Regions from separate parts of the Homo sapiens genome. Here regions 1, 2, 3, 5, 6 and 7 are each linked to region 4. Evidence: promoter capture Hi-C in 16 types of primary human blood cells and fetal thymus (Javierre and others, 2016). All regions are on one chromosome and are shown on one strand. Each heading gives the region's core, a stretch centred on a gene start or on the middle of the fragment in contact. The rest is flanking DNA. Distances are from core to core; before and after follow the strand shown. Region 1 has its middle 19 kb from the start of CHRNB3. Region 2 overlaps KAT6A-AS1 (KAT6A antisense RNA 1). Region 3 has its middle 130 kb from the start of KAT6A-AS1. Region 4 holds the start of DKK4 (dickkopf Wnt signaling pathway inhibitor 4). Region 5 overlaps KAT6A (lysine acetyltransferase 6A). Region 6 overlaps KAT6A (lysine acetyltransferase 6A). Region 7 overlaps KAT6A (lysine acetyltransferase 6A).

What was found. The method cuts DNA at HindIII sites, captures the fragments that hold promoters and counts their contacts. A CHiCAGO score of 5 or more calls a contact.
Region 1: a fragment that was not itself captured here is called in contact with the fragment with the promoter of DKK4 in region 4 in 1 of 17 cell types (M0 macrophages); the score reaches 5.2 in M0 macrophages.
Region 2: a fragment that was not itself captured here is called in contact with the fragment with the promoter of DKK4 in region 4 in 1 of 17 cell types (erythroblasts); the score reaches 5.9 in erythroblasts.
Region 3: a fragment that was not itself captured here is called in contact with the fragment with the promoter of DKK4 in region 4 in 7 of 17 cell types (non-activated CD4 T cells, naive B cells, naive CD8 T cells and 4 more); the score reaches 7.4 in non-activated CD4 T cells.
Region 5: a contact is called between a fragment that was not itself captured here and the fragment with the promoter of DKK4 in region 4, in 4 of 17 cell types (activated CD4 T cells, naive CD8 T cells, total B cells and 1 more). The highest score is 9.2, in activated CD4 T cells.
Region 6: a fragment that was not itself captured here is called in contact with the fragment with the promoter of DKK4 in region 4 in 5 of 17 cell types (activated CD4 T cells, non-activated CD4 T cells, total CD4 T cells and 2 more); the score reaches 8.3 in activated CD4 T cells.
Region 7: a fragment that was not itself captured here is called in contact with the fragment with the promoter of DKK4 in region 4 in 9 of 17 cell types (activated CD4 T cells, total CD4 T cells, naive B cells and 6 more); the score reaches 11.7 in activated CD4 T cells.

The regions. Positions count from the first base shown.
Region 1 is chr8:42,676,928-42,680,104 of GRCh38, forward strand. No RefSeq gene overlaps it. Among named protein-coding and RNA genes, the nearest start is that of CHRNB3, 19 kb to the right of the region's middle. The HindIII fragment of the contact is 1,054 bases long and covers 1,354-2,407 here.
Region 2 is chr8:42,061,589-42,064,905 of GRCh38, forward strand. The region is part of intron 1 of KAT6A-AS1 (KAT6A antisense RNA 1); the gene reads left to right. Among named protein-coding and RNA genes, the nearest start is that of KAT6A, 11 kb to the left of the region's middle. The HindIII fragment of the contact is 983 bases long and covers 1,024-2,006 here.
Region 3 is chr8:41,923,191-41,926,622 of GRCh38, forward strand. No RefSeq gene overlaps it. Among named protein-coding and RNA genes, the nearest start is that of KAT6A-AS1, 130 kb to the right of the region's middle. The HindIII fragment of the contact is 1,896 bases long and covers 438-2,333 here.
Region 4 is chr8:42,375,423-42,378,628 of GRCh38, forward strand. It overlaps DKK4 (dickkopf Wnt signaling pathway inhibitor 4), which reads right to left and starts at 1,807. Exons shown (of 4, transcript NM_014420.3): 1 at 1,513-1,807; 2 at 258-408. The coding sequence starts at 1,623. The HindIII fragment of the contact is 5,398 bases long and covers 1-2,511 here.
Region 5 is chr8:42,036,135-42,039,588 of GRCh38, forward strand. The region is part of intron 2 of KAT6A (lysine acetyltransferase 6A); the gene reads right to left. Among named protein-coding and RNA genes, the nearest start is that of KAT6A-AS1, 14 kb to the right of the region's middle. The HindIII fragment of the contact is 516 bases long and covers 1,039-1,554 here.
Region 6 is chr8:42,012,022-42,015,620 of GRCh38, forward strand. The region is part of intron 2 of KAT6A (lysine acetyltransferase 6A); the gene reads right to left. Among named protein-coding and RNA genes, the nearest start is that of KAT6A-AS1, 38 kb to the right of the region's middle. The HindIII fragment of the contact is 2,762 bases long and covers 755-3,516 here.
Region 7 is chr8:41,963,041-41,966,284 of GRCh38, forward strand. All of the region lies in intron 8 of KAT6A (lysine acetyltransferase 6A), which reads right to left. Among named protein-coding and RNA genes, the nearest start is that of KAT6A-AS1, 87 kb to the right of the region's middle. The HindIII fragment of the contact is 2,712 bases long and covers 347-3,058 here.

The sequences.
Region 1 (3,177 bases), core at 631-3,130, 300 kb after region 4:
CCTATGTTAGTATTTAGTTTACAACTAATAAATGCATATATACATACATAATTGTGTCAATAGGTGGCATGTGGAATTGAAAACTCATTCCATGCTCCTCAAATTCCAGGTTTTGAATGTTCCTCACATCACTCATAAGGACCAAAAAGTGTGTGGGGGTGGAGAGGGGTCTCTGTGGTGGCTTCCTTATCTGCTCAGGGCTCCTGAGGTGGCTGCCCTAGGCCGATCCTTCTCTCCACTGTCGAGATCTTTGCCTCTAGCCCTTTAGGGATAGAAAACTCGACATTCCCAGTCATTGATTGGGTCCTCTGAATAACTAAAATCCATAACTCGAAAAACCCTGTCTTACCAGTGAGGAAAAGGACAACCTGGATCCCCTTTCTTTGGGGCCACCACGTTTGTTTTTGTGATGTTCACAACTCACCCTCTCCATGTTCAGTATCTGCATCCCACGTATCTGCTGGCCGCAGGCGATCTCCTGTGCTGCTGCATCAACCTATCAACCTGTCTCCCAGCAACAGAGGCCAGGACCCACAACTCCAAAGCTGTCTGCTGTTCAGGCATTTATCATACCTTGATCACTTACCCTACTATCCCAATCAATGAAATGGTGTGTTTAATCAATACCACTTATTTGTCATGGATCCATGCTGAATCTCAGTGGTAACCTTCATTTGTCTAGGAAGACTGTGTAGATTTTGTTAGGGATTGATATCCATGTGTAAGTCTCTAGTTTCTAGACTGTGTCTGCCTTTCCTTATTCAAATATTTCAGTTCAGGCCAGGCACTGTGGTTCACGCCTGTAATCCCAGCACTTTGGGAGGCTGAGGCGGGCAGATCACCTGAGGTCAGGAGTTCGAGACCAGTCTGGCCAACATAGTAAAACCCTGTCTCTACTAAAAATACAAAAATTAGCCAGGCATGGTGGCAGGCGCCTCTAATCCCAGCCACTTGGGAGGCTGAGGCAGGAGAATCACTTGAACTCGGGAGGCCGAGGTTGCAATGAGCCGAGATTGTGCCATTGCATTCCAGCCTGGGCAACAAGGGCAAAACTCTGTCTCAAAAAAAAAAAAAAAAAAAAAAATCAGTTCAGAACTGTTGGCCAGGACCCATCACCCCCGGAAACTGGAGTAAGGTAACAAATTGGCTGAAAGATTCTTTCCTTGATTTTCAATGAAATTTCTGTGGTTCTAGTCATGGCCAAAGAGAAGTAGCAGGTGGGAACATACTTGGTTATTCCTACTTCATGTTTTCTAAGAAAAATCCCTTTACTCAACCACTACACGTGAAGTTTTATACTTGCCAACTTAGTATTGCTTCAGGTAAGAACTCACAAAAATGAACTCAAACTAAAGCTTAGCACAAGCTGAAACAACAGAGAAAGGAAGTGAGTTCCTTACTTTCTGATGTTTGACACTTTCCCCAGAGAATTGAAAATCATCTCTAATAGGTCTGATGAGCTGTTTCAAAGAACACACCTCCCTGCCACTTATAAAACCTGAAAGCTACTTTCCTTAATACAGAGAGTTAACTGAGAGCCAGAGGGAAGAGCAGGGCAAAAAGTCCTGCCGGGTCATCAGCAACCCTCTCAGAATTTGTCTGTTTCCTTCCAGGATCAAATCCAGCATGCAGGTGACTACAGTCCCATCCCCCGGCGTTATCTCACAGTGGTACAGAAGGTCTGTGAGCTGCTGGAGACCCCATGAGCTGGGACAAAGGAGCCGAGGGGCAGCAAAGGCTGCTTCCCCAGCCCCACCCTCACTTCCACTCCAGTTCCCCCAGGCAGAAAAGTGAAGCCACCGGAGCCTGCTTTGTAATTCCCTACTCACTAAAGAAGCAAAAGGAAATGAAAAGTCCACAATTATCTTTCTGTCTCCCTCTATCAGCCCATAAACTTGGGTAAGGGGCACATTGTTCTTGGAATGGACTCAGAACAGAGTAGTTATAATATCAGAATGACTTTCTTTTAGGTAACCCTTAGCAATAAAGAGATACCCACACACCTTAAAAAGGTGACTAAAATCCTAAGTAGATGTATAGCAGGCTTAGATTTGCCTCATTCTCATTCAACAAAAGTTTTAAGAGATTTTCAATCCAGGTGCAGTGGTTTATGCCGGTAATCCCAGCACTTTGGGAGGCTGAGGCAGGAGGATCACTTGAGCTCAGGAGTTTGAGACCAGCCTGGCCAACAGAGTGAGACCCCCATCTCTATAAAAAAATGTAAAAATTAGCAGGTGTTGTGGTGCACACTTGTAGTCTCACCTACTAAGGAGACTGAGGTGGGAGGACTGCTTGAACCTGGGATGTCAAGGCTGTGGCGTGCTCAGCCCTGTCTGAAATAAAATAATAAAATTCTATGATTTACAGAACTGTGCTAAGGGGAGGCTCATGCACCTCACTAACTAGAAGCTTAATTTGTGCAGCTTATAGGCCCCTGCCAGGTTAGGGGTGTAATGACCAAACAAAAGAGGGCTGAAGTTTATGCTAGCAGCAAATGAACACTTAAAACACAAAAACAAAGAAAAAACTTTTATGTCAGAAAAAAACTTTAAGTCATAATTGCATCCAAACAACGTAATTGCACTCAAACAACAGCTATGTGGGGTTTTGTCTTTGTTTTTGTTTTTTGAGACAGAATCTCCCTCTGTCACTCTGGCTGGAGTGCCGTGGTGCAATCTTGGCTCACTGCCAACTCTGCCTCCTGGGTTCAAGCGATTTTCCTGCCTCAGCCTCCTGAGTAGCTGGGATTACAGGCATGCACACCATGCCAGGCTAATTTTTTGTATTTTCAGTAGAGATGGGGTTTCACCATGTTGACTAGGCCGGTCTTGAACTCTTGACCTCAAGTGATCCACCTGCCTCGGCCTCCCAAAGTGCTGGGATTACAGGTGTGAACTACCGTGCCCAGCCTCAAACAACAGCTATTTGGATAAGACAAAGTATTCCAATAGTCCTCAGCAGTCGCAAAAACAAAAACAAAAACCCAACACTTTGGATTCCCATATTATTATGCCTTATTGCTCCTTGACATCATTTGGATATTTGTCCCCACCCAGTTTTCATGCTGTGGGGCCTGCTGGGAGGTGATTGGATCATGGGGGTGGATTTCTCATGAATGGTTTAGCACCTTCCCCTTGGTGCTGTCCTTGCAATAGTGAGTGAGTTCCTGTGAGATCT
Region 2 (3,317 bases), core at 265-2,764, 310 kb before region 4:
GGAACTTCCTCAAAATGATAAAAGAAATCTCAAAAAACCTGCAATTAACATGGTACTTAATGATGAAAGACAAATACTTTCCCTCTAAGACATGATCATAGCAAAGATATCTGTTGTCACCACTTCTCTAGTCAACATGGTACTATAGTTTCTAGGCAGAACAGTAAGGAAAGAAAATAAAAAGGCATCCAAATTGGAAAGAAAGAAAGCTATCTTTGTTCACAGATGACATGATCGAATATCTAAAATATCCTACAAACAACTGCTAGAATTAATAGGTTTATCAAGGTTGCAGGATATAAGATCAATATACGGCCAGGCATCGTGGCTCATGCCTGTAATCCCAGCACTTTGGGAGCCGGAGGCGGGCGGATCACGAGGTCAGGAGATCGAGACCATCCTGGCCAACATGATGAAACCCCGTCTCTACTAAGAGAAAAAACTAGTTGGGCGTGGTGGTGCACACCTGTAGTCCCAGCTACTTGGGAGTCTGAGGCTGGGGAATCGCTTGAACCCAGGAGGTGGAGATTGCAGTGTGCCGAGGTCACACCACTGCACTCCAGCCTCCAGCCTGGCAACAGAGTGAGACTCCGTCTCAAAACAAACAAACAAACAAACAAAAAACAAGAAGTGGGCTGGACGCGGTGGCTCACGCCTGTAATCCCAGCACTTTGGGAGGCCGAGGCGGGTGGATCATGAGGTCAGGAGATCGAGACCATCCTGGCTAACACGGTGAAACCCCATCTCTACTAAAGATACAAAAAAATTAGCCAGGAGTGGTGGTGGGCGCCTGTGGTCCCAGCTGCTCGGGAGGCTGAGGCAGGAGAATGGCATGAACCCGGGCAGCGGAGCTTGTAGTGAGCCGAGATCATGCCACTGCACTCCAGCTTGGGTGACAGAGCAAGACTCTGTCTCAAAAAAAAAAAAAACAAGAAGTGTTGGTAAGCATGTGGAAAAATTGGAGTCCTTGTGTAGTGTTGTTAAGAATATAAAATGGTGCAGCCACTGTGGAAAACAGTATAAAGCTTCCTCAAAAGTGAAAAATAGAATTACCATAAGATCTAGCAATCTCACTTCTGGATATATATACAAAAGAATTGAAAACAGGCCAGGCGCGGTGGCTCACACCTATAATCCCAGACTTTGGGAGGCCAAAGCGGGCGGATCACCTGAGGTCAGGAGTTGGAGACCAGCCTGGCCAACATGGCGAAACCCTGTCTCTACTAAAAATGCAAAAATTAGCTGGGCGTGGTGGCGCAAGCCTGTAATGCCAGCTACTTGGGAGCCTGAGGCAGGAGAATTTCTTGAACCTGGAGGGCAGAGGTTACAGTGAGCCGAGATTGCACCACTACACTCCAGCCTGGGCAACAAAGAGTGAGACTCCGTCTCAAAAAAAAAAAAATTGAAAACAGAATCTTGAAGAGATGTTTGTATACCCATGTTCAGAGTAGCAGTATTCACAGTAGCCAAGAAGTGGCAGCAACTCAAATGTTCATCAACAGATGAATGGATAAACAAAATGTGGTATATACATACAGTGGAATATTATTTGGCCTTAAAAAGGGAAGGAAATTCTGACATACGCTACAACATTGATGAAACTTGAGGACATTGTGTCAAGCGAAATAGGCCAGTCACAAAAATATAAATATTGTATGATTTCCCTTACATAAAGTAGTCAAATTTACAGAAACGGAAAGTTGTATAGTAGTTGCCAGGTCCTGGAGGAAAAGAAAAATGAGGAGTTATTATTGAATAGGTACAGATATTTGGTTTTACAAGATGAAAAGAGTTCTGGAGATGAATAGTGGTGATGGTTGTACAATATCAATGTATTTTTAACACCCATCAAGTGAACACCTAGAAATTGTTAAGATGGTAAATTTTATGTTTTGTGTATTTTACCAGAATTTTTTTAAAAAAATAAAGTGTATTTCTGTATACTAACAACAAACAATTGGCGATTAAAAAAAAACTAGCTTTGTACAGTTGCTTAAAAGTATGAAAGCTTTGGGGATAAATCTGACAAAATAAGTGCGAGATCTGTTCATTGAATGCTGCAAAATATTGCCAAGAGCTAAGAACTAAGAAAATGGGGCCGGGCGTAGTGGCTCACGCCTGTAATCCCAGCACTTTGGGAGGCCGAGGCGGGTGGATCACCTGAGGTCAGGAGTTCAACCAGCATAGTGAAACCCTGTCTCTACTAAAAATACAAAAAAAAAAAAATTAGCTGGACCTGGTGGCGGGCACCTGTAATCCCAGCTACTCGGGAGGCTGAGGCAGGAGAATCACTTGAACCTGGGAGGCAGAGGTTGCAGTGAGCAGAGATCACCCCACTGCACTCCAGCCTGGGCAACAAAAGCAAAACTTTGTCTCAAAAAAAAAAAAAAAGAACTAAGAAAATGGAAAGATACACCTTGTTTTGTGGTTGGAAACCTCAATGGTGTTAAGATATCAATTATTCCCAAATTCAGCTATGGATTCAATTGTAATCATAATCCCAGCAGGCTTTGTTTATAGAAACTGACAAGCAGGCCGGGCGTTGTGGCTCACGCCTGTAATCCCAGCACTTTGGGAGACCAAGGCAGGCAGAATACCTGCAGTCAGGAGTTCGAGATCAGCCTGGCCAACATGGTGAAACCTTGTCTCTACTAAAAATACAAAAGTTAGCTGGGCGTGGTGGTGCACGCCTGTTATCCCAGCTACTGGGGAGGCTGAGGCAGGAGAATCGCCTGAACCCAGAAGGCAGATGTTGCAGTGAACTGAGATCATGCCACTGTACTCCAGCCTGGGTGACAAGAGTGAAACTCCATCTCAAAAAAAAAAAAAAGGAAAAGAAACTGACAAGCAAATTCTAAAGTCTTATGAAATACAAAGTACAGGATTGTCATAAACTTTGAAAAAGGACAAAGTTTGCTGGATTTATACTACATGATTTTAAGGATTCTTATGTTTTCTCATGCAAGGTTTATTAGTGAATAGCACTAATACCTACCATACTATGACATAGGATTGTTGTGAGAATTTTTAAAGTTACTACATATAGTTGTGGCACTAAACCAATCTAAGTTATATAGAGACCACAATGTAAGTGTTAACTCTTATTAGAGTTGTTATTATTTGTAGTATTTTAATTTGCATTTCCTTGATTACTAGTGAGATTGACCTTTGTTTATTGGCCATTTGAGTTTTCTTTTCTGGGAAGCTCTTCTTCAAGTCTTTTGTCTATTTTTCTATTGGATTGCTTATATTTTTCATAGTTCTTCATATATTCAAGGTACTGATACATGTCAGTTCATGTATGTTGCATATTATGT
Region 3 (3,432 bases), core at 136-2,635, 450 kb before region 4:
AGGATGTCAATAATCGGGGAGGCTGTACATGTGTGGGGACAAGGAACATTTTGTACTTTCTACTCAATTTTGCTGTAAACCTAAAACTGGTCTAGTAAATCAAGTACATTAATTTTTTTTAAGAAAACCTCCCTCTATGATTTTTCTCTCATTATAGTTTTGCCCATTTTTGCTTTATATATTTTAGGATCACATTAATAAGGCCATATGAATTTAGAATTTTTATACCTTCCTGATGAATTAAAACTTTTACCATTTTTAACCCTCTTTATTTTGGTAATCCTTTTTGCCTTAAATTCTATTTTGTCTCATATTAATATACCTATACTAATGCTTTCTTTTGTTAGTGATTTCCTAACATAGTTTTTCTATTTTTTTAACTTATGTTTTTCTTATGTTTTTGATGTTTCTCTTATCAACAGCATATAAGGTTTTTAAGCTTTATTTTTCTAATAATCTGTGTCATTTAAATGGAATATTTAGTCCATTTACAAATCACTTAATTACTGATATATTTGGGTTTAAGTCTATTTATAATGTCTTTTCTATTTACTTGTGTCTTTTCTCTCCTTTGTTCCCTTCTTTCAGATTATTTTTCACATTTTATCATTCCATTTTCTCCTTGTATTATTTTGGAATTACACACTGTTTCTGTTCTTTTAGTGATTACCCTGGAAATTAAAATATGCATCTTTCAAAAAAAGTATCTTTAATTTCTCAGTAATATTAATCAAGACATTGAAAGACGTTGAAGCACTTTAACTCCATTTATCCCTTCCTAATTGATATGAAATTGTCTTGTGTTTAAGTGTATGCAATGCATGTGTGTATGAGAGAAAAAAATCATGCCTTTCCAATAATGCAGAAAAAGTGTTTGATAAAATTCAACATCCTTTTATGATAAAAACTCTTAGGAAACTAGGAATTGAATGGATATTCCTTCATGTGATTAAGGGTATGCCTGCTCTAATGACTTCAACACTGTACTGAGCCAGTGCCGTAAGACCAAAAAAAGAAAAAATGATATAATGTTCGGTGAATGGAAGAATCAATACTGTTGTCAATTTTCATTAAATTGATTTTTAGAATAAATGCAATCAAAATAAAATGTCATTATGATCATTTAGGAATCTAATACGTTAATTCTAAAAATATATGGACATGCACAAAGCCTAGAAGGGTCAATCACTTCTGAGAAGAAAAACAACTTAGGAGGAGGACTTGCTTTACTTAATATGAAGATTTATTTTGTAGCTACAGTAATCAAACCAGAATAGACATAGAGATCAATGAAGCAGAATAAATCGTCCAGAAATAGGCTGATGCGTATATGGACACTTGACATAGAGCAGTGGAGAAAGAAATAGTGCTGTCAGAACCGTGTCTCCACATGGGGAAAAGATGAAACTGGTCCCTACCTCATGCCATGAACAAAAATCAATTTCAGATACTTTAAAGATTTAACAATGTAAGCAAAATAAGCTGTTAGAAACTAGAGAATATCAGATAAAACCATTATAATCTCAGAGTAGGGAAAGATTTCCCAACCCACACAGAAAAAAGCACTACCCATAAAGGAAGATACTACTGAACTTGGAACACACTAAAAACTTATGTTCATCAAAAGATACCCTTAAAGTGAAAGGGCAAGTCCCAGAATGGCAGAAGATACGTGTGACATAAGTAACTGACCAAAGACTCTTATTCAAAGTATATAAAGTACTCCTATAAATCAATAAGAAAAAGGCAATTCAATAACGATCCAGGCACAAGACTTAAACACACTCTTCACAAATGAGGAATCTCAAATAGCCACTAAGCATATGAAAAGGTACTCAACTTCATTAGTAATCAGAGAAATGCAAAAGAAAATCACAGAGATTCCACTACACACACACCAGACTGGCAGAAATTGAAATATTTGAAAATATCAAGTATTGACAAGAATGTGGAATAACAAGAACTTTCATACACGGCTAATGGGGGCCAACAACAAGAAACGGAATGGTTACTTTTGAGTCTGGCGTTAGGTGGTACAGCTGGAGTTACACCTGCCTGATCATCCAGCAATTCACCTTTTAGGAGCATACCTATGAGCAATGTCTGCAAATGTGCACCAGATGTATGTGGGATTAAACACAGCAGTATCATTGGTAATAAACCAAACTGAAACCTACATATTTGTCAACTTTAGAATGTATACATTTTTTGTAGTCATATAATATTATACAGCAGTGAAAATAAATGAACTACAGCAACGTCCAACTTCATAAACAAATCTCACGAACATGTTGAGGGAAGCCAGATGCAAACTGTATGATTCCATTTCTGTAAGCTTCAAAACAAGATAGAGTGAAGCTATGATGCTTAAGAATGCACACCTAGGTAGTAAGATACAAGAAAAAGATTTACCGCCTAAGCCTGGATGGTGATCATTTCCGCTTGGGAGGGTAGACTGTGCTTAGGAAGGGCCCTCCAAGCCACAGTGGAGGGACTACTGAGCTGCAGTTCTATTTTGCAGCCTGATTTATTTTTAGAGAGGTATTCACTTTAGACAAATGCATTCAGCTATATGTGTTTTATTGACTTTTCTGTATGTGCTTTATTTTCACAATAACAAGGGGTTTAAAAAAGATGTAAGGGAACCAAGTCCATCTTATTGCATGGGCATTTTCATGTCTTCGTGTGACACCTGAGGCTGCAGAGGAAAGCAGTTTAGATGGCAGTCCGCTGGCAGCAAGGCAGACCCCACGGAGCGGGGAGTTGCCTGATAGCAGCAGCACTGCAACCTGAGATCCCTGTGCTGAGACTCAGCAAAGGTGAGTGGCAGTAGCTGGCTTGAGTCTGCTTTGCTTTGTATTCCTCTGTTCTTTTAATTGAACTACTTCCCTGACCTTTTAAAGTTGTTCTTGCAATAATACATATTATTCAGCTTTCAGATTTACAGCTTTCAATCATCCTTTGAGAATGTCAGGTTAGTTCTAGTTAATTTTAGCTGTTTTCTCTAAACAGGAGGTAAGACAAACTTCTTTGAAATCATGTAATTATCCCATTTGCAAGAAGTCCTTGCCTTTATTAGTAAAGCCTTAATCACTGTCTCTTTGTCAATGTTTTCATTTTCTTTGGAAAACTATGATCAAATTCAATCATTTTGATGTAATTGACTACAACTGCTTTATTAACCTTCATTTACAAAGAAAACTATAGCATTTGGAAAGGCTGAGGTGGGAGGATCACTTGAGCCCACGAGGTCAAGGCTGCAGTGAGCTGTGATAGCGCCACTGCACTCCAGCCTAGGTGACAGAGTCAGACTAGCTCAAGAAAAAAAAAAAGAAAAAAAGAAAAAAATTAAATCAAGCAATTTTACTAAATGTAACAAATCAATTAAACCAGTGAAACTTGCTTGTACATGGGACAGAGCCTCAGTCCTAG
Region 4 (3,206 bases), core at 557-3,056:
TCCTAGTTACTCCAGAGGCTGAGGCAGGAGAACCACCTGAACCCGGAGGCCGAGGCTGCAGTGAGCTGTGGACAACAAGGGCGAAACTCCGCCTCAGAAAAAAAAAAAAAAGGAAAAGAAAAGGCAGCTGCATACATTTACTTCAAGCATGAATCTAGGAAGCACCATTAGAGAGTGCCTACCCTGGAATATTCTAGTCTATGGGGCTTAGACACTACCTTCGGTTTAAAAACCACTGTTGGCGTTATGTCGCTCACCGTTCACACAGAGTGTCCCAGGGCAGCACATGGCATCTCGCTGGCACCTCCTCCGCAACCCACGACATGTAGCACAGAACGGCTTCTCATCGCGGGGCTGGAGGCAGAACTTTCTGGTATTGCAGTCCGTGTCAGACAGGCACTGTGAGCCCTGTGGAGGGAATCTGTTATCACAAGGCTAGGAAACCCCCAACACGATGGAAGATGACTTATTATTGAAGGCAGGAGGCGGAGGGAGCCAAAGGACAGTGGCGCTGTGACAAACCCTGGGCAGCATCTTACTCTCCAGTGGAAATGGTTTTCTCCCACAAAGGGAAGCTCATGTCACCCGGGGAGACCTAGGCGCTGCAAAGGCTATTTGAGTTTGAAAAATTGACTTAACTCAGAATTTAGTTTTCCTGTGCTCTTTGTGAAAATGGGAAAAAATGTTTTCCTATGTGTGTCTTAACAGGTGAGTATGAGATTTTCAATATATCTTAACTCTAGAAGCTGGCTACAGTTTCATTAAACATACTATTGATGTTTGTGGCATTCCTATTTGATTTTTTACTCTAGTGAATCACATTTAGCTTAGAGACCCTTCCCTAAGTGAACTGTCCTTTGATTTTCAATGATGCCTCATTGACATAGAGAAAGAGATACCGAAGATCAATTGTTCTCATACACAGTTGATGCTTCTACATAGACATACAACGTAGGTGTAGCATATATGATATATGTAATAATCTATACGATATATAATAACATATACACATACATAAAGCGATTCCTAAAACAACTCTCTCTGTGAAGTTAGATGGTGACAAGGCAATGCATCATGGCCCTCTGTTTAAATTCTCATTCCCATGTTTGCTTGCTGGCTGTGTGAGCTTGGGTAAGCTCTTCAACATCTCTGAGTCTTATTTCCTCATCTGGAATTAGGGAATGTTTCACCTATCTCAAATTGTGAGGAAGAGTACATGACGTATTACATGTAAAAGAGCTGGCACATAGTAGAGCTTCCAAAGTGTTCGTTTATTTCGTGATTTATAGACAAACGTATGGCCGAATGATGTGAAAAGCCACTGTGTTTATTTCATACATTCACACTAAGGCCACTGATCCTACCAGGATGCCCTCCCAAATCCGAAACCAATTCAATTTACCTGCTAGGTAAGACATTTCATACATGAATCAGAATGACTTACTAAAGCCTAAACAAAACACCCCAGCTGTCAGCAGTCCCGTACCTCGCCCCCCTCCCTAGCAGCCTTACCTTCCGGGCCCCATGCAGGTCAGCAGAGCTCCTGATGTTGTTGAAGTCCAGGACCAGAGCTCCCAGGGGAGAGCAGAGCCAGCTCAGCCCCAGCAGGACGGCCGCCACCATCCTTCAATCCCGGGGCTCCTGGAGGGTCCCAGCACTGTGCGTCACCAAAGCGAGGCTGCTCTCCACCCAGAGCAGAGCTTCCACTAAGCTGGCAGCTCAGCACGTCGTCTGTTTGTCACTGCTTTTTCTGAAAGAAGTAAACCTTAGTCTGAGTAAGGTGCGTGAAATCGGCTGAGCAAAGTCTGACCAGCAGGTTCCTCCTGAAACTATTTATAACCAGATGTGCCTCCTCCCCGCTCCGTTCCTTCCTCCTGCCCCACACAGGCTTCAACAAATCCCTTCAAATCTGTTTGATCAATAGTTCAAAACAAGGACTCAATAGAAGGAGAGAAGAGGCAGGGCCATGCGGCTTCTCCTCCAGGGGTTCAATCCCTCTTAATTATTGCATATCAAAGTTAGTTCAAAGGGCCACGGCAGAGCAGGATGTCTGTATCAAAGGCAAACTCTGATAATCACCTGCATTTCCTACCTTCAGTAATCCTTTGGGGGTAGGGAGGGAGTCTGCCCTAAGATCTGTTTTCACAGCTAATTGTGCTCAAAGAAAGGATGAATCATACTGGCCAATATGCTATAGAGGATGCCAAAAACTAATGAGGTACAAAATACACTGAGAAGCTGTAAACTGGGCTTCAGATAGTGAGGACAGATAGAAAAAGAGAAAACGCCCCCTGATTAGCTCTGGCATCCAGATGTCAAAATCCCAACCGCTTAAAAGTTGTGAACGTAACAGCACCTGTTCTGACTAAATGCCATTTGGGAAATTACTTTCCTTTAAATGAAAATTGAACTGTTTGAAGTTAGGGTTATTAGGAAAATAATGTAATTTATGAAAATCCCATTTTTCAATGGTGGGAACAATGATAGCGCATTTTACACAATTCAGTACGAAGCTTTGGGTCCATTTTATCAGCAACATATTTAATTTGTGTTGCATTATGTAAAACTCACTTAAGCAGAACAAGGATCCAAGTCTCTGGCTGATTTCAGATGAAATTTCATGTATTTCCAATTTTCCTAATACGAATTTTTTAAAACTTCTGCTTCATCCCTTTCCTGTCTGATTTTTTTCCATTTGGACTATTAGTCAGGTAATTTAGACATGTGCTTATCACTGTCTTAAATACTTTAAGGGTAGAACAATCTAGATCTGGATCAAAAAATCATTTTTTCTCTTCATTGTTTCATTGCTCTTAGCATAGAGTCATCTAAAATGCATTTTTTCTATGCCATAAATGATAATCTTATTATTTACTACATTTTCCTGCAGAACAACCTAACATCAATTCATTGACATGAATCTCAGCATTCTGTGCATGGGAACATTCTCAATTTTGAGTAATGCAGTGCCATTCCGAGGGTGATGCAGGTGATTCGAGCCTTCCTACTACTTGGCCCTTGTCCTTGGGTTGGTATTGCTTGTCTACCTCTCGTATGGAAGTTACTTGTTTTAATCCCTTAAACTGACATCAAACAACACCCTTTGATAGCATGATAACCCTGGTGACTAGGGGTGTTACAGAATTTATTTTCAAGTTGTACAATTATGACCAAGGATAAAGGAAAGAGCCCCCAGGGTTCTGTCT
Region 5 (3,454 bases), core at 47-2,546, 340 kb before region 4:
GATGTAGCATATGGGAGTATCTACTGAAAATGAGAAAAAAAGGTGGGAAGAAATACTGAATTTCTGCAGACAGAACAGACTATACACAGACATACATCTTCAAGCAGAGGGCAGAGCTCAGATTGGAGGCCACAAATTTGTAAGTGGCATCCCACCACATGGTCATGAGATTTTCCCCAAAGTTAAAGCAGAGAGGTTGGGCACGATGGCTCATGCCTGTAATCCCAGCACTTTGGGAGGCCAAGGTGGGCAGATCACCTGAGGTCAGGAGTTCAAGACCAGCCTAGCCAACATGATGAAACCCCGTCTCCACTAAAAAAATACAAAAATTAGCCAGGGGTGGTAGCAGGCACCTGTAATCCCAGCTGCTTGGGAGGCTGAGGCAGAAGAATCGCTTGAACCCAGGAGATGGAGGTTGCAGTGAGCAGAGATCGCACCACTGCACTCCAGCCTGGGTGACAGAGCAAGACTCCAACTCAAAAAAAAAAGGAGAAGGTGGTAAATGGCTGGAGTTTGCCAACATGATGCAGGAGTAGTGAGTGAGTGAGAATGTGCCATAAGGCCAAGCAATGAGAACAGCATTAGAGTGATGGCAGGGCACCTGTCGGAATCATGCAGGTAACTTTCTCGCAACTATATACCACACAAGATCTTCTTGAGATAAAGCAGTGAGGGTAAGGAGAAAGAAAGGTGGAAGATTAGAGTAGTTATAGCCAGGGAGGACAATAAAACAGAATGTACATTTCCAGAAGTACACTGTCCTGGGTCCAAAGTGTGTTCATGAGGGTGTGTGTGAAGCATGCTATTTCATCATTTGTTTGAATGTCAATTATGAGGTTAAAAAGTACCTGCTTCTTCTGTCTTCTGACTCTCTTAGCCAGTCCCCACTACAGAGATGTTGGTTCTAAGCATTAGAGCAATGGTTCTCAACCCCAGCTGCACATCAGATAAACATTCTTAAAAAAATAAAAAATAAAAAAAACTGAAACCTGGGCCTCACTACTAGTCAAATTTAATTAGTTTGGTATTTATTTTTTAAGCTTCCTCAGGTAATGCTAAAGTGAATTTAGTGCCAAGTACCACTGCTTTCCAAAGAATAAGGCTTTGGATTTATGTTACAGAATTAAAGAAAAACTGAGTGGCATGGAAAAAAGTAAGGCAGGAAAATGGTGAAAGAGGGTTTAAATAGTAAGTTAGATATTTAAAGATGCCCTGAATAGAAAAATTGGGAAACTATTAAAGTACAGAATCACACTCCACACACAAAAATAGTAATAATGTTTCTGAGAGTTCTGTTAAAGGTTCTAGAAAACTCAGGAGTTAAATGCTTCACTGTACCCAATGACTAAGAAAAAAGGAACCTAGACTTTACTAAGCTCAAAGAATTAAAAACCAACACTTAGCAGCTCTTCAGGTCAACTACAGTTCACAATTCCCTGGAGGAAAACGCAGCCCATAGTACAAGTCTGACAACACCTCTAGATCTGCGGAATCACCTATTCTACATAAAAGGTAAACGGCAAAAGAAGCAACTATCTTCTTTAACACATTGAAAGCTTTTTTTTTTTTTTTGGCTGCCAGATTTTATTTCCACACCAGTTATCTTCTTCTTAACAAGTTACACCTATAATCTTAAAATCGCCCAGTTATTTTACAAACATCTGTCCTCAATCTTAATCTTTATTTGCCACTATCCTAATGTACTTGCTAAGTTTTACAGCAAAGCAGAAGTGATGCAGAGATGAAGTGTTAGTCATAAAGACCAATAAAGACAAAAAATGATGTGCTGTCTGCGGTCTTCCCCACACGGTCTGTTTACAAGTAACATTACAAATCTCTCAAGCTCCTCCCAGACACTATGTTTATAGAAGTGCTAGACTATACACTTTTGGTCCACCCATATTTAATGTCTTTGGTAAAAATTACTTCATTAATTAATAGAAAGGTTTGTACCTTGCTATCTCTAGCTCAGTCTCAAGAATTTTAAATTCTAACCAATGATCCAAGTCACTCAGAGGTCATTTGTGTTGCAGACCTACTGAAAATTAGACTTACCTTTAAATGGACTTTTTTTCCCAAAACTCAAGGAGTACTTTTTCTTCCAGCATTAAGGTAGCTCAACATGTTCCCCTTCTAATATTTAGCCAACAACATAAGAAAACCTTGATTCCTCTAACTTGGGCCATAAGAAAGCAGTCTTTTCCCAAAAAGTTGTTTCAAAACTCTAACAAGAGTGTATAGCTATTTTCACACACTGAAATAGCAGATTTATATATTTGTGGTTTACGATACCACCAATATTCTCTAGACAAGGTTTATTCTATGGTTTCCATTAAGGAAGAGAATTCTAACTAAATTATTTTAGGCTCACTGCTCTCTAATACTATAAAGCAGTACTACAGCATAATGAAAAAAGCACAAAATTGAGAAGGGCCTGACCAATTCTTCCAGATGGTATTAACTGGCTGTGTGGCACTGGACAAGACACTTCAACCTCTTTGGCTCTCAAATTTCCCTATTATTTGTGAAATCAGATTAGAATCACTGTGATCCAAGATTGCTACTGGCTGAACATTCTACACAATGCAGAAGATACAAGTCTTTTTTTCTAATAATCTATGTTTCGTAAGCATAATACAATTCAACCATAAAAGATACCTCAATCAACACTACAGCCAGACTTACTTTTCCTTAGCAGTCTTTTTTTTTCTTTAAATTGCTGACAGTTAAAAACTATTTTGACCCAGAATGGCATACTACTATAATCTCTATGCTTAATTTCAACTCCTAATAAAATAGTGCCACACTACAAATGGTTTCTTCACCTGTTCCCTAATGAAGTTGAAAATAATTCCTTGGCCTTGAATTTACAGATACATGTACAGGGCTGATGAAAGCCATCTGCTGGGAACTATGACTTTCATATGAAAGGAAAAAACCAGAAGGAACTGCTTTCATTTTCCTGGGAACCAGCTGCAGCTGAATGAGTCCTAATCCTGCTCCAGCTGGGACAAGCAGAAGGGTGAAGTTACTCCTGGTCTAATTCATTCGCTGCAGATCCTTTGTGAAATGACTCCACCCCTGAGTAGCCAAGTGGTAAATAACTTTATCAGAGTGAAGCTCTTAATAATTCCTATACATAAATCAGAGCATGAAAAGTATTCATTATTATAATTTTAAGAAACACTCTCCAGGTCACCAGAAAAAAATAAATTTTTAATTCTATTTAAACCAGCAAACTCCGCACCTAGATTTAGTCCTCTTACATAGCTAAGAACCAAGTCAGTATGACAAAGATATTTTCTCCAAAACTTTAAATGCAAAGAGAAAATAAATCTAATAGATGTTAAGGAGATTCTTACAGCTTCAGGAAGACTGAATGATATAAATTTTCTTTCCAGATTCATCACAGTTCCTGTTATGTATTTGCTCTCCTAGTATTAAACATAACAAA
Region 6 (3,599 bases), core at 886-3,385, 360 kb before region 4:
CCAATCGTTAGGGAAATGCAAATTAAAATCACAATGAAATACCACTATCTATTAGAACGGCTTTTTAAAATGACAATATCAAGTACCAGTGAGGAGTCTGAATAAATGAGATACTCATACATAGCTGGTAAGCATGCAAAACAGTACAGCCACTATGGAAAACAGCTTAGCAGTTTCTTATAAAAGTTAAACATACCATTACCATACAACCCAGCAACACACCTCCTAGGTATCTGCCCAAGTCAAATGAAAACCTAGAGTAGTAGACTGAAATCCCCCACAGACAGCTCATCCTAATCCTTCGAACCTGTAAAGGATAATTTTATTTGGGAAAAGGGTCTTCACAAGTGTGATTAAATTAAGAATTTTGAGATGGGGGGGTTATCCTGGATTATCTAAGCAGGCCATACATGTTGTGACAAGTGTCCCTAGAGAAGCAGAGGAACAGGTGACACACACACAAAGGAGAAGACATGATGTGAAGAGGCAGAGATGGGAGTGATGCTGCTGCTGACCACAAGCCAAGAAATGCCAAGAGCCACCAGAAGCTCAGAATGCCTGCAGGGGCAATGTGTCCCTGCCAACACTTTGAGTTCAGTCCAGAAATACTAATTTCAGACTTCCGACCCTCAGGATAGTGAGGGAATAAATTTCTGCTGTTTTAAAGCTATCCAGTTTCGCAATTTTTTACAGCAGCCACAGGAAACTACTGTACTATATTCACACAAAAACCTATATATGAATGTTTATAGAAAGCTTATTCATAATTGCCAAAAACTGAAACCAAATGTCCCTCAATAGGGGAAGAGATAAACAAACTATGGTGTACCTACCACACCATGGAGTACTACTCAGCAACAAAAAGGAACAAACTATTGACAACTACATGGATGAATCCCAAATGCATGATGCCAAATGAAATAAGCCAAACTTAAAAAACTATACTTGATTCCATTTATATGACAGTCTGGAAAATGTAATATTATAGGGAGAATAATAGCTCAGTGGTTTGCCAGGGTTGGGGGAGGGTGATGACTACAAAAGTCAAGTTTTTTTTTTTTTTTAGTGGATAATGGATCTTTCCTATATCTTGATTGTGGTGATTGGTTATATAACTCTATCCATTTATCAAAACTCATAAAAGTAGACACAGAAAAGAATGCATTATTGCATGTAAATTTATAGATAAATAAATATAGCAATACAGAGGGAGGTGGCTCTGTCATTTTTCTTTCTTTCTTTTTTTTTTTTTTTAGATGGAGTCTCGCTCTGTTGCCAGGCTGGAGTGCAGTGGCGCGATCTTGGCTCACTGCAACCTCCGCCTCCCGGGTTCAAGCGATTCTCCTGTCTCAGCCGCGCATGCCACCAAACCCAGCTAATTTTTGTATTTTTTAGTAGAGTTGGGGTTTCACCATGTTGGCCAGGATGGTCTCCATCTCTTGACCTCATGATCCACCCGCCTTGGCCTCCCAAAGTGCTGGGATTACAGGCGTAAGCCACCACGCCCGGCCTTGGCTCTGCTTTTTTTCAATTACAAATGCTCATGCACACATATGTATGGTCACTTCTGTATTCATCAGCATTTAAACACAATATATGGGGTTCCTTGCTCCTATCCTAACCAAGATTAATGGTCCTTCTATAATTTTCATTCAAAACTGTCCTTGATATTTACTTATTTATTAACCTATTTTATCTAAACAGAGGGTGGTTTACTTTCTAAAAAGATCACTCCACTGACTGCAGATTTAAAGGGACAAGAACAGAAGCAAGGAGTTCAATTAGGAGGCAAGAACAATGACTTAGTCAAGAGGGAAGTAAAAAGTGCTAGATTCTGGATATACAACAGAGCAGGGTTTGGCAAACTGTTTGTAAAGACCAGACAGTAAATATATTCAGTTCTGAGGTCACAGGGTCTCTGTTAAAACCACTCAAGTCTGCCGCGGTACCGTGAAAGAAGCCTTGGACAACACAGAAACGAAAACAAGTGTGGCTGTGCTCCAATACAACTTTACTTATGGACACTGAAATCTGAATTACATATGATTTGCATGTGTTTGAAATATTATTTTAATATTTTTCAACCATTTAGAATTGTTAAAAAAAAAACATTTTTAGCTCATGAACTATAAAGAGGTGGGGGCCATAATTTGCTAACCCCTGTTCTAAGGGGCAGAGCCAAAAGGATTTGCTACTGTACTAGACGTGATGTGTGAGAAAAGAGATGCCAGATATGCTATTAAAGTTAACTATGCTTTTGCTACAGTTAATTTTCATACCAAACTGTTCCATACACAGTACAAAGCAAAAGAATTTCTGGGCCATACTCTGTAATCAGCTATTATAAGCCATTCACAATCATCTATACCCATACTATATATATCCAAGGCCAAACTCCACAGAAAAATCAATTGAAGATAAAATACCAGTTAAATGAACCACATTTTTGGCTTGAGATCAAGAGGCTATGCTCTCTTTTAAAACACACACGCAGAAATGCCTCAGGCAACCAGTTTCTTAAAACACATAGATAATTAAGTCAACAAATATACCTTCAATCCACTGTATGATCAATAAGGGGCAGCAGGTTACAGCAATAAGACAAGGACAGATCGGGGGGCTAAAGAGAAGCAAGGAAAATAAGAAAACAGAAAAAGATTAAATGGGGCTCGGAGGACAGCATATTAGCACTTTTTTAATAAATAAAGGAAGAAATTCAGAGATATTACTCAACTAGAATAAGTGACCTCATATACAAGGGAGGTAGAAACTGAAGTAGAAGCTGGAGCAGTATGTGATCCAATGAAATACTTCGGTACATGCAGTTATTACATGTAGTTACAGGTTCAGGATTACTTGAAATACTTCGGTACATGCAGTTATTAAATGTAGTTACAGGTTCAGGATTACGCTAGGAAAGGATAGATTATGGGTTCAGTTCTCTAAGGAGCTGAGAAATCACTGTCCATAACTGTTCAACTACTCCTCATCTTTAAGCCTCCAGAAACACTATTTCAAATGGGATAACCAGTGCATGAAGGGAGATAGTAAGGCAGAAGAGAGGAGAACAATATAACAGAGTAGGCTATAATGTCAAAGTCAGAGGTTGTCTGCCAATGTTATCCACAAAAACTTCTCAAAGCTCACAAGTAATATGTCCAATGTGGTCTCATGCCCCTTCTGTGCTAAAAAGAATCCGGACTACCAAGCTGGCAGCCCTATGCTACAGTAAGCAGAGTTGCAATCTATAGCCAGATCCCTTCAACATGGATGAGCTGGGGGGAAAGCAGAACTAGGAAGCCAAGAGGACAGACAGATAAGGAGGTAACTATGCAAACAACTTTCCAGATACCACGACAGCACTTAAAAGCAGATCCTATACAAAGTCTTTCTTGCCTTAAGTTCAGAATACAAATTACTGCCACTCATAAAACAGCATTTGCCTGTGGGCAATACAAAGATGTAAGAGACACTGAACACTTACCTTCAAGGCGCTTACAAATTAGTGATCTAGAAAGCTTTTGCTGCCAAACCACAACCTCCTATACAGTCGTATAAATTTCAATGTATAGATAAATTTCAACTCCTGGCATATGTAC
Region 7 (3,244 bases), core at 453-2,952, 410 kb before region 4:
CTTTTTCTCCATAACACTACCACATGGCATACCATTTATTTTAACCCATTCCAACCCAAACTAAACTGTAAGCTCCCAAGAGGAAGACATTTTTTATTTAATGTTTTGTTCACTGCTAAATCTCTAGTGCTTGGAACATGGTAGCCAGTATTTAGTAATATTTATTATTAGATAAATATTATCTTTGATAAAAATTTTAAACAATCACATGTGCTGGTAACACAGCAAATCTCCCACCCAAGGTCTCCTGTATATACATGTACACAACCATCTACCAAAGTTCTCCACTTTAGATTTCACACAATCCCACAACTGTGTAAGCATGGTCTCTTCTTCCATCTAAATAAGCTTCTTTTCCTATATTCCTACATGTAATACCATCATCTACTCCAAATAGAACACTAGAAGACCTACTTGGTTCTGCCCTCTCCTTCAATCCTAACTCCCAATCCAACAGCAGTCTTTTCCATTCTATCTTAAGTCTTTCTCAAAACGATTATCTATCTCTGTCTCCTATCTATCTCTTCTACCTTCATTTAGGCCCCAGTCACTTTTCATTTTGACTACTGTAATCATCTGACTGGTCCCTTGCTCAGGTGTTCCTCAATCCATTGCTGACAATATCACCAGACTTGAGTTTCTAAAATACAAATATGATGTCATCCACTTTTTAGAAATTCTTTAGCAGTTCCTCAAGAGCTATTTAGCTACTACTTAACTACTTTAAAGAGCTACTTTACCTGCAAGATTAAGTACAAACTCCTTAATATGAAACACAAAATCTTCATGATCTAGTACCCCTCCAATATCATCTCTTGTTTGAACTCCAACCAACTGCACACAGCTCCGAGAATACACGATTTCTCACACCCAAACTTGCTACTAGAAATGCCTTCTCACTCTTCTCCAATAGTAAACTTACTCATCCCTTCAGCACCCTACACAAATGTCACCTCCTCTACAAAGACTTAAAATTTTAGTTAACCACAATAACTAAAAATAGAACAATAACATCCCTAGATGTCTTCCTGTTCATTCTCACTGCAATTTATGCATATCTCCACAGTAATACTATATCATAAATTAAGCAGTTAAGGCCATGGAGTCAGAATACCAGGGTTCAAATATTGACTCTGAAACTTAACAATTTATAACTCTAGGTAAAACAATCCTTCTAATGTTTCCATTTCTTCATTTGTAAGATGAGGCCAAGTAATTAATAATAAAGTTGTATTAAATGAAACAAATTAATATATAATGCTGAATATAGTATTTTACATATAATAAGAGGGTATCTATTACTAACCACATGGCTTTAATTACTTGTTTATTCAATAGTCCCCCTTATCCACCCACTGGGAATACACCTTTCCAAAACCTACAGTGAATACCTGAAAACTGCAGATAGTATTAAATGTTATACAAGTTGAGTATCCCTAATCTGAAAATCTGAAACCTGAAATGCTCCAAAATCTGAAACGTTTTGAGCACTAATGATACTCAAACGAAATGCTCGTAAGAACACTGCAGATTTTGAATTCAGGATGCTCGACGGCTAAGCATATGATGCAAATATTCCAAAATCTGAAAAAAAAAAAAAAAAAAAATCAAAATCCAAAACACTTCTGGTCCCAAGCATTTTGGATAAGGGATAGTCAACCTGTATATACTATGTTTTTTCCTATTCATCCATACCCATGATATTTAATTTATAAATTAGGCACAGTAAGAGATTAACAACAATAACTAAAAACAGAACAATTAAAACGATGTACTGTAATAACAGTTACGTGAATGTGGTCTCTCTCAAAATATCCTATTGCATGGTATGCACCCTTCTGATGATGATGAGGAGGAGGAGACGATGATAATAAAATTCAGACCTTGGCAAGCCAAGGGTAACTGAAACCATGGAAAGCAAAACCACAGATAAAAGGGGGATTACTGTAAATACAGGAGATAGGGTGATTATTGGCCCATCAGATCAACAAATATTTGAGGACCTACTACATGCAAGTCACACTGTGGAGATGATATAGAAAACACAGTATCTGCCCATAAAGGTGTTGTAAGACAGGCAGTCCTTGTTTTTGATGGCACTGTGTTAATGGAAACAGGTACACATCAGAATTGTGTCCGTGCTTCTGAGGTGACAGATTTGACCTTAGTTCTGATATGCATGGGTTTTTTGTATGTTGTAATAAAACTTTATTTACGAACGCTAACATTTTTCACATAATTTTCACATGTCCATAAATATTATTCTTTTTATTTTTGTCCAACTGTTTAAAAATATTAAAACCATCCTCAGCTTGCAGGTCATACAAAACAGGCTGTGGATGGGACTGGGCCACAGGCCATATTTTGCCAACCCTAACACAGGTGAAGCAGTTTCTAAGCTGTATCTATGCCCTCAAAAATGACTTTCTGCATTACCTTTATGAGTCTTTTTATTATTCAAAACATCCTCTTATCTAGCCAAGATGAACTTTCCCAACTGGCTTCAAACCACTTTTTTTATTACAGCGTCAGAGAACCTGGAAGTCATCTTTGATCATCTCCTGTTCCTTCAATCTACTTTAGTTTGATAAGCATGGGTTTCAGTTAACATTGCACCATGCAAAGTGAGGAATAGCTGGAGTTTAGTTTGAGATAAGACAGGGTGGAACATCTGTTGGGCAATGGTAATACACTGAATTACTAGTATTAAGCTGCATTTTGGAGCATTTTGAAAGCTAGTAACAAGATGTCAGTTTCGGCATGACGGGATTTTAAGGTACCCCCATGACATCTTTTTGCTGTTAAGTGATGTCTCCTTGATGCTGCTGAAAGTAGGAATGGTAGGTGGGGCGATGTTTACTGTGTTAAGGCATTTACCCATTAAATATAAGTCACATATTAAAGGCCGCATAGATGTATTTTTAGTTCATTGGATAATTTAGCACAACTTATTAAAATAGTAGTTAAGAGCCTGGGAACTAGAAAAGGCTAGCACAGTTCAAATCCTATCTCGGCTGAATCACCTTAGTTGGGCAAGTCACTATCAGATTTGTTGAAAAGCTTAAACGAGTTGATATTTGCACAGAACTTACAGCACTATGCCATTCATGCAGTGAGTGCCAAATAAATGTGAGCTTCTGCTTGCTATCTCAGTGGCAGGTTCTTGGAATACACAGATAATACGTCTTTGCCCTCCAGCTGGAATTATTTATAGTAGTCTCCCCTTATCCCCAGCTTTGCTTTT